Regions from separate parts of the Homo sapiens genome. Here regions 2, 3, 4 and 5 are each linked to region 1. Evidence: promoter capture Hi-C in 16 types of primary human blood cells and fetal thymus (Javierre and others, 2016). All regions are on one chromosome and are shown on one strand. The core of a region is centred on a gene start or on the middle of the fragment in contact, and the rest is flanking DNA. Distances in the headings are between cores, read along the strand shown. Region 1 holds the start of SPDYE4 (speedy/RINGO cell cycle regulator family member E4). Region 2 overlaps MYH10 (myosin heavy chain 10). Region 3 overlaps MYH10 (myosin heavy chain 10). Region 4 overlaps MYH10 (myosin heavy chain 10). Region 5 holds the start of PIK3R5 (phosphoinositide-3-kinase regulatory subunit 5).

Region 1 (2,700 bases), core at 154-2,653:
CAGAATATTGATCTTCTAATGTTTGAAAGCCTATTAAATAGGAGAGAAAGATGATTTTCTGTTTTGTTGTAAAAGGATCCAACCAGTTCTGATGGTTGAAAGCATCGTGAATGCGAAGGTCCACTCAATGTAAGCAGAGTTTCCTAACAATTGGACTTCCACAGCGACGGGATCTGCCTCCTCATTCAGTTGTGCCTTTCCCATCAGCGAGAGACTCCTAGGAGCCCATTAGGAAGCTGTGCCAGAACTCACAGGTTCTTTGGATGGTATCTGAGATAGTATCCAGCTCTTACATTTTTATTTTTTCCGAAAAAAATATTTTTGAGACTGAGTCTCACTCTGTCCTCCAGGCTGGTGTGCAGTGGTGCAATCATAGCTCACTGCAGCCTCAAACACTTGGGCTGAAGCAATCCTCCTGCCTCAGCCTCCCAAGTACTGGGACCACAGGTGTGTGCCACGATTCCTGATTACTTTGTTTATATTTTGTAGAGATGACGTTTTGCTATGTTGCCCAGACTAATCTTGAACTCCTAACCTCAAGTGACGCCCTGCCTTGGCCTCCCAAAGGAGGGAGATTATGAGCAGGAGCCCCTGGGCCTGGCTGAGATTTTCCCCTTAGTCTTTTTATACACAGGATATTTTATTCATAAAATACATAAATAGTAGGCAAATTTTGGGGTCAAGTGAAATAGATATGTTGTAATAGTTGATATATAGACCAGAGTTCCTTAGCTGAACTGGAGGGCAGGCTTTAGGTGATCCATGGATGCCCTGAACTTGTGGACACCATTGAAAATCTGTACGAAACCATGGACAGTCTCCTGTGATTTTCATTCCTCAAAATGTCTCTTGGACTCAAAGATGCCTGAGAGCAAAGGATGCATGTTCCCCTACTATAGGATCCAGGATAGTGAATATCAGTAAACATTCAGCAAAAAAGCTTTGCCACATTGAGTACTTCGACGTAACGTCTCCATTCAACAAGTCAATTTACCCAGGATCTCCTGTATATGTTAATCTCACTCTTGGAAGGACTCATCATTCTGCTTACCCTAAATTTCCTTCCACCTTCCTCCCTCTCTCACCAGACTAGACTCTGAAATGGGAAGGAGAAGCGGGGAGGAGAGCCCAACACCCCCTCAAGTTTAGAGTGGAGAGGACACAGCCTCTGCTGGGACAGGGAAAAGAGGAATGTGGAGACCCTGAGGATGCTTTTGGACAATGCTCAGAGGTTGGGACATTGCCAGGAGATACCGTTCACCCCGGATCTCCAAGAAAAGAGATCAGTCTGGCAGTTACATGTGTTTTTCTTCAAAGTAGTTGCCAGTTTGGAATGACCGATGACATCAGAGATTCCGACTTTCCTGATTGGAAGGACCGGACTCTGGTTGCTTGGGAGTTCAGGTGGACAACAGCAACTTCTCAGAACTACTCTTCACTCCTAACTTCTCCCGAGCCTCTAGAAGAGAAACGCACTCTTCTGGGTCCTAACGGAGTCTGGAAGAAGGCTTTGGACAGAACAGGGACTAGGTTTTGTGGACAGAAACAAAGTGTTTGGGAGAGATTATGGCCAGTGGTCAAGCGCGCCCCCCGTTTGAGGAGGAGAGCCCCCAGCCTAGCACAACGGTACGGTCCCCCGAGGTGGTGGTGGATGATGAAGTGCCAGGACCATCAGGTGAGGTGACTGGAGGGAGAAGCGATGGGAGATGATTGACTGAGGAGAGGGAAGGGGGCCAGTTACTGGGAATCTGAAGCACCTGAGTAGGGTGTGTGGGAAAGAAACGACGGACTCAGGAAGCCAGGGATCGGGGAAGGAGGGTGCAGGGAATGGGGCCAAGCATGGCCACGTGTAAAGAAAGTCTGGGGAGCAATGAAGGGGGTCAGGAGATGTGCTCAAAAGATGAGAGAGGAAGGCCGAGGCGGACGGATCACGAGGTCAGAAGATCGAGACCATCCTGGTTAACACGATGAAACCCTGTCTCTACCAAAAATACAAAAGTGAGTTGGGCATGGTGGTGCGTGCCTGTAGTCCCAGCTACTCAAGAGGCTGAGGCAGGAGAATCATTTGAACCCAGGAGGCGGAGGTTGCAGTGAACCAAGATTGTGCCACTGCACTCCGGTCTGGGCAACAAGAGGGAGACTCCATCTCAAAAAAAAAAAAAAGAGAGAGAGAGAGAGAGAGCAGACAGAGCTCAAGGGAAGGTTTCCATTTTTCTCCAATTGAAAGTTCTTATCTGTGATGAGGAAATGTTTTGAGGACAGAGAGCCGGAAGAATGGGGAGGTGAGGGAGAGGCAGATGGGGATCAGCAAAGGAGAAAGGTGGAAACATGGCTTGGAGAAGCTGACAGTCTGCGAGGCTTGGGAGGATGGAAGAGTAGTTTGAGGTTCCTGGGTCGGGGCGTCTAAGGTGATCAATGGCAGAAACATGACACCATGGCCTGGTTTCTTCACTCAGCCCCTTGGATAGATCCCAGCCCCCAGCCTCAATCCCTTGGCCTGAAAAGGAAGAGCGAATGGTCAGACGAATCCGAGGAGGAGCTGGAGGAGGAGCTGGAGTTGGAGCGCGCCCCTGAGCCCGAGGACACCTGGGTGGTGGAGACGCTGTGTGGGCTCAAGATGAAGCTGAAGCGAAAGCGAGCATCCTCCGTGCTCCCTGAGCACCACGAGGCCTTCAACAGGCTCCTTGGTAGGAGGATACC
Region 2 (2,700 bases), core at 152-2,651, 220 kb after region 1:
ACAACCCATTGATCCATGAATGAATTAATCCATTTACTAGGAAAGAGCCCCATGACCCAGTTACCTCCCAAAGGTCTTATCTCTCAACACGGCTGCATTAGGAACCAGGTTTCCAACATGTGAACTTTCAGGGAACACATTGAAACCACAGCAGCCAGGGCATTCAGAAAGTATTGGAGCTGGGAAGTCATGATGTTCCTAGTCACCAGTTATGCCCAGACACTGACGGGCAATGAGTAGAACTAGGTAACTCGTTCCTTCTTTCCTTCCTATCCTCTTTGTACTGGCACTTCTAGGCTCTTCCTTCAGCCTTTAGAGTGGACCCTTTATTCCCTGCCTAAATAGTCCTAATTTATAGGAGAGATAGCTCAGAAAGGGGAGGGAAGGAATTCAAGATTTAATGCTGACTCACTCTTTACCTCAATTTGAGGATTATTCTACTTATTCATAGAAATATCTGATTAAAAAATAAAAACATGGCCAGGCACAGTGGCTCACGCCTGTAATCCCAACACTTTGGGAGGCCAAGGCGGGCAGATCACTTGAGGTCAGGAGTTCGAGACCAGCCTGACCAACATGGTGAAACTCCATCTCTACTAAAAATACAAAAAGAAATTAGCCAGGCGTCGTGGCGGTTGTCTGTAATCCCAGCTACTCGGGAGGCTGAAGCAGGAGGATCGCTTGAAGCCGGGAGGTGGAGGTTGCAGCGAGCCAAGATCGCGTGACCACACTCCAGCCTGGGGGACAAGAGCGAGACTCCGTCTCAAAAAATAATAATAATAAAAAATAAAAACATAACATTTTGTAAACCCCATGAGAGTTTATGATGATGGGGAATTTAACGACAGCCTGTGGAATGACATGGGATAATGATCCCATTGATGTTCCTTGCAAAATGGAGAGTGAAAACAATACTTTCTAGAAGGAAAATGCTGTAAAAACATCCTCTGTGGTGGCACCTGACAGGCCCGTGCCAGGCTTAGCTCATCTCGCATAATCCCAGCCCCTGCCTTGCCAGACTGTGGGCTGGTGGCAGGCAAGCCTCTGAGTTCACAAGCTTTCACAAAACCTATGACCAATATTCAGAAACACAGGCTTCTAAGCTTACAGCTCTTGGAAATACCCGGTTCAGAGAAGGAATGATAATAGAGATCTTGACATTGAAGGATGAAGTGGAAAAAATGAAAAGGAGACACAGTAATGATATTCATGATCATGCTGTCACCAAGTCATTTAGAAAAAAATACAAATTTTTATTTGAGATACTGTGTCAGAATTTAGGAAAATTCTCATTAAAAGTGGTTAAGAATGTAAAAGGGTAAAAGGAGGATGTTTTTGTTATATTAATATTAATGTGGAACTTCCTTTCTCACAGTTGTTGTGTGATTAGGGTGGATTGAGTTACCTGCCACTCTGAGCTCCTCTAAAGTGACCTAATCCCAGTTGCTTCAGATTACTGTCTTCTTTTTAGCTGATCTGAAACCCTGACAATTCTTTCAGGTGGAGGAGCCCTGGGGTAAGGGTCTCCATTGCAGAAGGGTTCCCTCAGCTTCCACCCGCTGGCATTCAGATCACCCATCCCTTTCTCTGACCACTTTATTACACTGTTTCATTTATATTTAACCATAGCCTCTAGCTACTTTTAAAAACAGCATTTGTGTGTATTGCCAACTCTTTGCCAGTAAATATGAAAGCTTTGTGAGTTGATGAGAACTGATCTTAGAGTCTTACTCAAACAGCTGATTTCATGAGTGTGCCCTAGAACTGGTACGAGTTCAGTTTTGTATCACACACTTGCCATATTTGCAGTGTGACAATAAATGATGGCCCAGAAGCACTAGAAAATAGACCATCACTATTTAAATATCTTATTTAGCTTTCATGTGTCATTTACCTCCAAAAAGGAAGTCACTCCAGACAATGGTGAGCTCTAGGCCTTTTTAAAAATTGAGACATAATTCACAAACCATGAAATCCACCCTTTTAAAACTACAAGTCAGTGATGTTTGTAGTATATTCACAAAGTTGTGGAACCATTACCACTACCAAATCCTGCCACGTTTTCATCACCCCAGAAAGAAACCTCATACCCATTAGTGGTCACTCCACATTCTGTTCCTTCAATCCCCGGCTGCCACTAATCTACCCTCTGTCTCTATGGATTCATCTAGCGCTTTTTTTTTTTTTTTGAGACAGAGTCTTGCTCTGTTACCCAGGCTGGAGTGCAATGGCACCATCTCGGCTCACTGCAACCTCTGCCTCCCAGGTTCAACCGATTCTCCTGCCTCAGCCTCCTGAGTAGCTGGGACTACAGGCATGTGCCACCACACCCAGCTAATTTTTGTATTTTTAGTAGAGGCGGGGTTTCACCATCTTGGCCAGGCTGGTCTCAAACCCCTGACCTCGTGATCCACCTGCCTCGGCCTCCCAAAGTGCTACTTTTTTTCAATGAAGTAATAATTGCATCACATAAAATGGGTTGTCAAATGCCTGTTAAAACAAATATATAAGGCAATTGATGACTGACTTAGTTTATCAATTTCCATATATTCTACTTAATAATAGTTTAAAATATTTCGCCAAATATAAAGTGATACATTTAATTTAAAATTACTTAAACAGAAACTTAAACTGATTAGGATATAAAATGTTTGAAGCATTCTCATTAGTTGAGGTGTTATAATGATTTCTCCAGCCAGT
Region 3 (2,700 bases), core at 155-2,654, 160 kb after region 1:
CCTGAACTAAAGACACACTCAGGTGTTCAGATAAAAGTGCTGGGTGGAAATAGTGAAAGGAGATACGCTTCATCTTGCATACCTTGGTGGATAGGGCAACATGACATGGAAAGGGAGTCAGTAGCATCGGGCTTCTCATTTGCAACACTGTGTGTTAGGAACTGAATTTAGGAACACCGAGGCCTCTACCTTGCACATAATCATCTGAGGTCACCTAGGAGTACCCACAGTGAGGCTCACCACCTTGTGGCTTGTCTTCCTTTGTTCCTGATGCCTCACCAGCCCAGTTCCACCCCAGGTAGCTTCCATTCAGCAGCAGGCAACCAACACTGCTACCAACCCCGGTTGACCTGGGTAGATGGAAAGGAAAGTTTTGCTTGCTGTAACAATACCTGCAGGGGCCACTTTTTTAGGCCACAATGAAAATTTAAGACATGAGAGTCCACCATCTTCATGGAATCCTGGAATGAAATTCACTGTGTTTCCAGTCATGTTTTCATTTCCATAATACTCCCTTTTCATTTTTGCCTTAGGTAACTCCCACTCTCTGATGTGCAAACTTTCTGTATGTTTAGTATCTTCAGTGAATATTTTCTTTTCCTTCAAGCTTTAACCGAGACTTGGCTTTCCCCCACATACGGGGTATGAGTCCATTTAGTGAAGAGTGCTCCATCACTCAAATCCTATGCACTGGGAGATAGGGTTAGTGTCCTTACTAACACTGTGTCTATGTGTCTGCTAAACCATTACTCCTTTACTGCCTTGGAAAAGCCGCACCTCCATCACCACTCATTACTTTCAGCAGCTTTCTTCTTGGTTCCTCTCTCACTCCATGATGGGCCCCAGCACGTTGTTTCCTCTCTGCCTCAAGCCTTGCCATTGCCCTGTGTTACTTCATAGTTTTTAATGAACAGTCAAGTCCCTTGATCGTAAGGTCCTTCATATGAATTCCTCCGTCTCTCACTTATGCCACCAACATCTATGGTGATGCTCTAGACTTTGCCATCTTTTAGAATTAACTGACTTTTCAGATAATGTTTCAGTAGTTCTAATGCAGCATCCTTCCATATTGGTAGTCCAATCAAGAAGATTGGACTTCTTAGGAGAAGAGAGTCCAATCTCCTAAATGTGTTCTTTGACTTCATGTGGATCCCCAGCCCATTACTTGTTTTACTTTCCCCCTATATGTTAACAACACCCTTCACTTTCTGCCTTGTATAATTTAGATTTCATGGCCATCTTCTACCCATTTCCTAAACCCCTCCCTTGTCCCGTTGTTCATTGGTTATTCTTGTTTGGTAAAACTCACGCTGGATGAATCAAGATATTTGTCTCTTTTAATGCTGTTACTTGGGTTGCTGATGCTTCTGGAGTTATGCTCACATAATGGAACAGATAAATACCACTGTAATTTCCTGACCGTGAGCCCTGATTCTACACTCAACTCTTGCTAATCCTACCTTGGTCCTCCCACTCTCCATAATGACTATTTCAAACCTCTGCAGGCTCCAGATCTCTGGGTCCCTCCTTGCCCCTCTACTCCCTGGCTGATGGCTTGTTTCCCATTCCACAGAGGCACTGCAGAGAAACTGCCCCAGCTAGATGAACAGATCATTATCTCTTGTGTCTACTCCTGTCAAAGGCTGGTCTTACCTAGTCCTTCACCTCTGATGCTGATCACATCCTCTTAACCTTCTTAAGAATCTCATGGTGTTGATTATTCTGGGTTGTGACTGTATCTTCTGCTTCTCTTTTTATAGGCTCCTAACATTAGCAATAAATTTTCCCTATTAGCTAAAGTTTTACCCGTTACTTTAAATAAGAAAGTTAGTTCCTTCCACCTTCCTTTTACAGCCAGATTTTTCAAAACAGTGTTGCAGATGGGTAGGCAGATATGGTTGCTGGCAGGAGCTTGTGAAAATGAAGCAGGGTTTCAGCTGAGAGTGAGGAGGAGGGAGGAGAGATTGGTGGTTTAAGATAGAAATAGTGTGATGTAGTCATCTAGGAGAGACAGATAATACTTACATGTACATCACTGACATTGCATCAAATATTTAAAACAGTTGCTATTGGAAATGTAAGGAGAATGTGAACCACAGTTATAGAGGGAGTTTTAATATGCTTCTCTCAGAATTTGACATATTAAGTAGGGAAAAAAAGAATATTAAAGAATGTGATTTAATACAACTTAGCAAGCTTATATTGAAAAATGTATGTATGCAAGCAGAAAGCACATTTACAAATGTGGTGTCTATTCCATATAGCAGGCCACCAATAAAAATCTCAGTTCCTGAAAGAAGAAATCACAGGCTACATTCTCTGACCACAGTGCAATAAGACAAGATATTAGCAATAAAAAGATTTCCAAATGGGTTAGTGTTTGTGGGAGTGTGTTTAATGAGTATGAATGTTTTGTTATTAATCACTCATCTATGTGGCTTTTGGTAAAAGAGGAAATCAAAACTTACAGATTCTTTAGAAATCACTACAACAGGCTGGGCACCATGGCTCACGCCTGTAATCTCAGGACTTTGGGAGGCCAAGGTGGGCAGATCACTTGAGCTCAGGAGTTCAAGACCAGCCTGGGCAACATGGTGAACCCCCAGCTCTACGAAAAATAAAAAAATTAGCCAGATGTGGTGGCATGCTTCTATAGTCCTAGCTACTCAGGAGGCTGAGGTGGGAAGATTGCTTGAGCCT
Region 4 (2,700 bases), core at 11-2,510, 240 kb after region 1:
TGTGTGTATGTGTATGTATTTTTTCCAATGTATGTGTATACATGTGCACACACATGCGTGCAATTACAGTCTTTTAGCTAACATAGGGAAAGGAGTAGATAGAAAAGGATTAAGAAAAAACAAAAGGGAAAAGATCTATCAACTTGCAGTGGAAATGGATACAAACATATGTTGAGAGTTATTTTTAACTTTTATTTGGTAATTTTCTTGAATAGTTACTTTTAGTTTGCTTTTTTTCTTCTTTTTTCTGGAAATCAGATTTGAAAGTATGACACCATTTGCTGTTCCATGAAATAAATGGTGCTGCCAGGTCAAAGAATGGTCTTTGTGCCCTTTCTCCCACTGTTCCAGATAGAATCACCTTGAGAAGCTTTTCCAGTCCATGTGTGTCTTGAGGAAAGCCATCATTCTGATCCCATTGTATGATGAAGTCTGGTAGATTTTCATTTTTTATTGTTAGGAGAAAAAGGGAGTATAATTGGCATCCAAGATACAAAGTTGATTGATGTAGCCAGGATTCCTCCTTTAATATATAGCCAGTATCTTTTATTTTTCTGATTGAGGTATAGACTGTATACAGTGAGGTACACAGATTTTAAATGTGCAGCTCAGTGAACATATGTATGTGTATACACCCAGACCAACGTCATGTCACATGTCACCCTGATATTTTCTGATGTTTTGAATAGAAGCCTATGAACACAGCTCTTACAGCCCTTCCTGTTATCTAATAAATGCTACAAATTGACAGTGACTTAAAGTACAGAAAGCCAGATTCTCTTTTGCGTCTTAAGGATATGAACATTTTATGGGACATGAAGAAAAATGAAAGGTTTCTAAAACACCATGCTTTTGATTTTTCTCTGCCACAACCTCCTAAACCTACTTTTTGACCTGAAAGAACTAACCTCATTTTTACTTATGAGAAATAAAGTAGATCTACAGAAAACATCAGATTATCACCAGTTCATTTCTTGAACATGTATTACATCATATCTTTAACATGTATTACCCAACATTTTATTGCCTCTTAGAGCAAAACACACAGTTAGTAGATACACATCGTTCACAAATTTCTACAAAATACTTCTTGGAATATTCTCTTACAGATATGAGATCCTAACTCCAAATGCTATTCCTAAAGGTTTTATGGATGGTAAACAGGCCTGTGAACGAATGGTAAGGTTTTCTTGATCTTTTTCTGGCTTGTAGATTTAATCTAATCTTTCTTGTAGTTAAAAAAAGTAAATAAACTCTTTCTCTCTTAGATCCGGGCTTTAGAATTGGACCCAAACTTGTACAGAATTGGACAGAGCAAGATATTTTTCAGAGCTGGAGTTCTGGCACACTTAGAGGAAGAAAGAGATTTAAAAATCACCGATATCATTATCTTCTTCCAGGCCGTTTGCAGAGGTTACCTGGCCAGAAAGTGAGTGGGTATTCACGAATTAATCGTTCACTGAGGAAGTGCTTGTGCTAGATAAGCATTGCATTTTGACCTGGGGTGCAAGAGTGTGTGAGACATAGTCTGTCCTTACAGAAGTTGCTTTATAGTGGCAGAGATAGTCAGGTAAATACATGAACATTCTAAGTAATGGGATGTTGCAATACAAAAACACACAAGGAGGCTGGGCGTGGTGGCTCAGGCCTGTAATCCCAGCACTTTGGGAGGCTGAAGTGGGCAGATCACTTGAGCTCAGGAGTTCGAGACCAGCCAGGGCTTCATGGCAAAACCCCATCTCTACTAAAAATACAAAAATTAGCCAGGCTTGGTAGCATGCGCCTGTAGTCCCAGCTACCTGTGGGAGCTGAGGCGGGAGGATCTCTTGAACCCAGGAGGTCAAGGCTGCAATAAGCCAAGATGGTACCACTGCATGCCAGCCTGGGTGACAAAGTGAGACCCTATCTCAAACACACACACACACACACACACACACACACACACACACACACACGGGGCCAAGGGGTATGGGGTCCTGCCTCAGCTCAAGTCCTCAGAGAATGCTTCTCACACACACACACACACACACACACGGGGCCAAGGGGTATGGGGTCCTGCTTCAGCTCAAGTCCTCAGAGAATGCTTCTCTGAGGCTGAAACCTCAAGGGTAAGAAGGCTGGCCCTGTGAAGGGAGGAGAGAGAAGCTTTTCAGTAAGGGAACTACAGCAGCATCCTGGCAAGAGTCTGGCAGCATTTGAGAAGGTGACACAGTCCAGTGTGGCTGGAGCAGGATGGGTGAGAGGGAGCAAGGTGAGAGAAGAGGCTTGAGAATCAGACGCTGGACAGGGGTTAGGAGTGCAGTGAGGGGGAATCTATACTGTCAAGGCCGCCTGGCTGCGGTAGGCAGAATCCATTGAGAATTGGCCAAGAATAGAATTGGGAGGGCCAGTTGGGAAGCTGTCTTAGTGATTTGGGTAGAAGATGATGGTGCCTGGACCCAAGAAGGTGGTGGTGGAGAACGAGAGAAAAGTTGTTAAATTTGAGATAGAATTCAAAGGACTTAGAACTGATTTGGATTTAGAAGGTAATACTGGTATTTACTTCTTTCTACTGAACACTTCGGGTTTGGGAGTGAGAGAATTTGAGACAGGTTGAATAGTTTGCCATCCAGACAGTTTTGAGCAAACAGAATCTGAACACCTGGACTGGAAGTCAGCACTCTGTAATAATGTACTCTACATGTGGGTTGGAAAACAGCT
Region 5 (2,700 bases), core at 196-2,695, 210 kb before region 1:
CATTTGGGGAAGTTGCTTTTTCTTGGTATTTCGGGAGTCAGGAAAAGAAAAGTCATTGGTGTTCATATCTCTCAAAGCCTCAGGTAGGGCTGCGGCTTTTGACCAACAATAACGTATGACCATGACCTTGTGGCCGAGTTTGCACGCCTCTAACAGATATTATGACACAGTTCCATTCAATAGTGGAAGTGGAGATTTCAGCGTTGCCCTTTGTTAACCCACAAATGAAGTGCTACTCTTCCATTGTGAGGGCTGTCGGAGCAGTAGCCAACCTTCTTATCCCCATTTTTTAAACGAGGGAAAGGAGGCATAGGAAGCGCAGTGTCTTGTGGGATTCCCTGGGGAGTCCTTCCAACTCTTGGTAGAGCATCATCTGCAACGTCGTCTGGGGGAGAAAAGGGGGAGGCAAGAAGAGGGCCTTGACCCTGGAGGCAGGAACTCCCGCACACCCTCACTCCCTTCCCCAGGGGCTGGGGAAACCACTCAGGTGACAGTAGCCTTGGTGCCGGCCAGGGAGGGCGGGAAGTCCAGCCAGAGGCTGGAACAGCAGTGCTGAACGCCGGGACTGGCTGGTATTTCTATGAAGGTTCCTGCAGAAGGATGCGGGTCAAGGTGCCCGTCTGCACAGCAGTAGTGCAGGCATTTTAAGGGTTAAGGGCACCCAAAGAAAATAGAAGTAGGGGCCGGGCGCAGTGGCTCACGCCTGTAATCCCAGCACTTTGGGAAGCCGAGGCGGGCGGATCACGAGGTCAAGAGATCGAGACCATCCTGGCCAACATGGTGAAACCCCGTCTCTAGTAAAAATACAAAAAATTGGGCGTGGTGGCGCGCGCCTGTAGTCCCAGCTACCCGGGAGGCTGAGGCAGGAGAATCGCTTGAACCCGGGAGGCGGAGGTTGTGGGGAGTCAAGATCGTGCCACTGCACTCCAGCCTGGCGACAGAGCGAGACTCCATCTCAAAAAAAAAAAAAAAAAAAAGAAAGAAAATAGAAGTAGGAAGAGGAAGTGGGTCGCAGTGAGAGAAGGAAGCAGCTCGTCGGAGCTTCCTCTTTCTCGTCTTTCCCCTAAGCCCCTACCCCAGACCTGCCCCCCTGCTCCGCCCAGCCCTCCTGCGGGGCCAAAGCCGCGCTTCCGACGCGGGGGCCTAACCTCCCCTTACTCCTTGGGGGTCGCTGGTGCTCCGCGCTGGTGCCCCTCGGGCCACTGCCATGGACCGGCCAGGGTCTGCTTCTTCCGAGGGCTGGCGGGTCAGAGCCGGGGCTGCTTCTCAGACGCCTTGCGGCCTCGGGGGCGTGACCCAGAGGATGTGGGGCCGGGCGCGCACCTGGCTGACGCTGCCGGGCCGCCAGGTGGCTGGAGAGGCCGGCTCCGCGGTCAGCCCCGCCCCATTAGGCCCCGCCCCCTGACAGGCTCCGCCCCGCCCGCCGGAGGAGCCCAGGCTGGGCAGATGCTGCGGCTCGCCGCGCGGCTCCAGCTGGGGCGCGGTGGTCCCGACGGTCACCCGAATCGCAGGGAGTCGCCGCTGGAGAGGGGCTCGGCGCCCGGCGGGGACTGCAGGTGTGTGACTGGGCGGCCAGGGCGGATGCGGAGGGCACGCATGGGAGCTCCAGGCAGAGCTGGAGCAAGCTGGGGACCGTCGGGGAGAGTGGGCTCCGCGAGCAGCCGCCGCAGCCCGAGGGCTGGACAGATCCTGCTATCTTCCGGCCCCGTGGACCTGGCCCACCGCGGGGGCAGCGGGTCTGCAAACCTGCGCTCCAGATAACCCCAGAGACTTAAGGGGCGTCGCGGGGACCACTTATCGTTATCCGGGTAACCTCTGCTGGGCGGCTCTGCGCAGCTGTGTCCTCAGCCTCCTGCCTCTGACACAGGACGCCCTGTGTCGTAGGGTCAGGTCCCCTGCCCGCTCCAGCGGGGAACTGTCCGTGAGCGTGGGCATCAGGGCTCTTGTGCCGTCAGAACCTGGGAGTCATGGAAGTGCCCGCGTAAGGCGCCCTCCGTCGAGCCTCACTCAGCCTGCTAGTTAGCCAGCCTTGGGCCCAGACGCGGCTGCTGTCCTAGAGAACTGCACGCTTTCTGCTCTCAGAGGATCTGTGTTTACACACTGGACATCCCCGCGTGACTCGTGTGTGTGTGTGTGTGTGTGTGTGTGTGGGCATGCGCATGTGCGCGTGCTGGCCCATCCCGGCCTGGGGTAAATACACAAAAAGTTCAGGTCAGTAGGAGGAAGGAGATTGTTCAGAAGGAAAAGGAAGGCGAGGTTAAAGCAGCAGGATGTGGTATAAAGCGAGTTAACAAGACTCGGAGTAGAGAGGAGGGGTGGGTTTAGGCAGAATAAGGGCTAAAAGTAGGCCAAGCCTGCCTCCAAGGTCCTCTCTGGACTGACACCCTCGTTTTCCTTCTGTGTCTTCTCATCCACCCCACACTTTCCTTCCTGCCCTCAGGACCACCTGTAAGGCACTGGCTCCCAGAGCTGACTGCAGGTAGGGCTCTCTTGGAGCCAACCCTACAACGTGGCTTTCCAGGGATGGGATCTGGAATCTGTAGTTTTCAAAACTTTGAATGAGCTCCTTAAGTGATGATGCTGAAGCCGTTGCTTGGGAACCATGCATGATGTGGAAAAGAGACCCAAGTTCCAACCGGATCCAGCTGTGTGACCTGCAGCATCACACTGTCCCCCAACCCAGCCTCAGTCTCCTGATTC

The links. Contacts are between HindIII fragments. The CHiCAGO score rates a contact against its expected background, and 5 or more counts as called.
Region 2: a contact is called between a fragment that was not itself captured here and the fragment with the promoter of SPDYE4 in region 1, in 3 of 17 cell types (megakaryocytes, erythroblasts and endothelial precursors). The highest score is 14.8, in megakaryocytes.
Region 3: a fragment that was not itself captured here is called in contact with the fragment with the promoter of SPDYE4 in region 1 in 1 of 17 cell types (megakaryocytes); the score reaches 7.1 in megakaryocytes.
Region 4: a contact is called between a fragment that was not itself captured here and the fragment with the promoter of SPDYE4 in region 1, in 1 of 17 cell types (megakaryocytes). The highest score is 5.1, in megakaryocytes.
Region 5: the fragment with the promoter of PIK3R5 here is called in contact with the fragment with the promoter of SPDYE4 in region 1 in 14 of 17 cell types (naive CD8 T cells, naive B cells, total CD4 T cells and 11 more); the score reaches 14.4 in naive CD8 T cells.

Annotation. Positions count from the first base shown.
Region 1 is chr17:8,757,249-8,759,948 of GRCh38, reverse strand. SPDYE4 (speedy/RINGO cell cycle regulator family member E4) reads left to right here and starts at 1,403. Exons shown (of 7, transcript NM_001394956.1): 1 at 1,403-1,675; 2 at 2,457-2,687. The coding sequence starts at 1,567. The HindIII fragment of the contact is 1,936 bases long and covers 943-2,700 here.
Region 2 is chr17:8,536,288-8,538,987 of GRCh38, reverse strand. The region is part of intron 14 of MYH10 (myosin heavy chain 10); the gene reads left to right. Among named protein-coding and RNA genes, the nearest start is that of MYH10, 93 kb to the left of the region's middle. The HindIII fragment of the contact is 591 bases long and covers 1,106-1,696 here.
Region 3 is chr17:8,598,800-8,601,499 of GRCh38, reverse strand. All of the region lies in intron 3 of MYH10 (myosin heavy chain 10), which reads left to right. Among named protein-coding and RNA genes, the nearest start is that of MYH10, 31 kb to the left of the region's middle. The HindIII fragment of the contact is 1,589 bases long and covers 610-2,198 here.
Region 4 is chr17:8,517,360-8,520,059 of GRCh38, reverse strand. MYH10 (myosin heavy chain 10) reads left to right here. Exons shown (of 43, transcript NM_001256012.3): 20 at 1,110-1,179; 21 at 1,269-1,429. Among named protein-coding and RNA genes, the nearest start is that of NDEL1, 83 kb to the right of the region's middle. The HindIII fragment of the contact is 1,775 bases long and covers 373-2,147 here.
Region 5 is chr17:8,964,452-8,967,151 of GRCh38, reverse strand. PIK3R5 (phosphoinositide-3-kinase regulatory subunit 5) reads left to right here and starts at 1,445. Exons shown (of 19, transcript NM_001142633.3): 1 at 1,445-1,556. It overlaps PIK3R5-DT (PIK3R5 divergent transcript), which reads right to left and starts at 1,305. Exons shown (of 3, transcript NR_184080.1): 1 at 1,149-1,305; 2 at 1-385. RefSeq lists silencers at 1,032-1,131, 1,202-1,521. The HindIII fragment of the contact is 6,543 bases long and covers 1-2,700 here.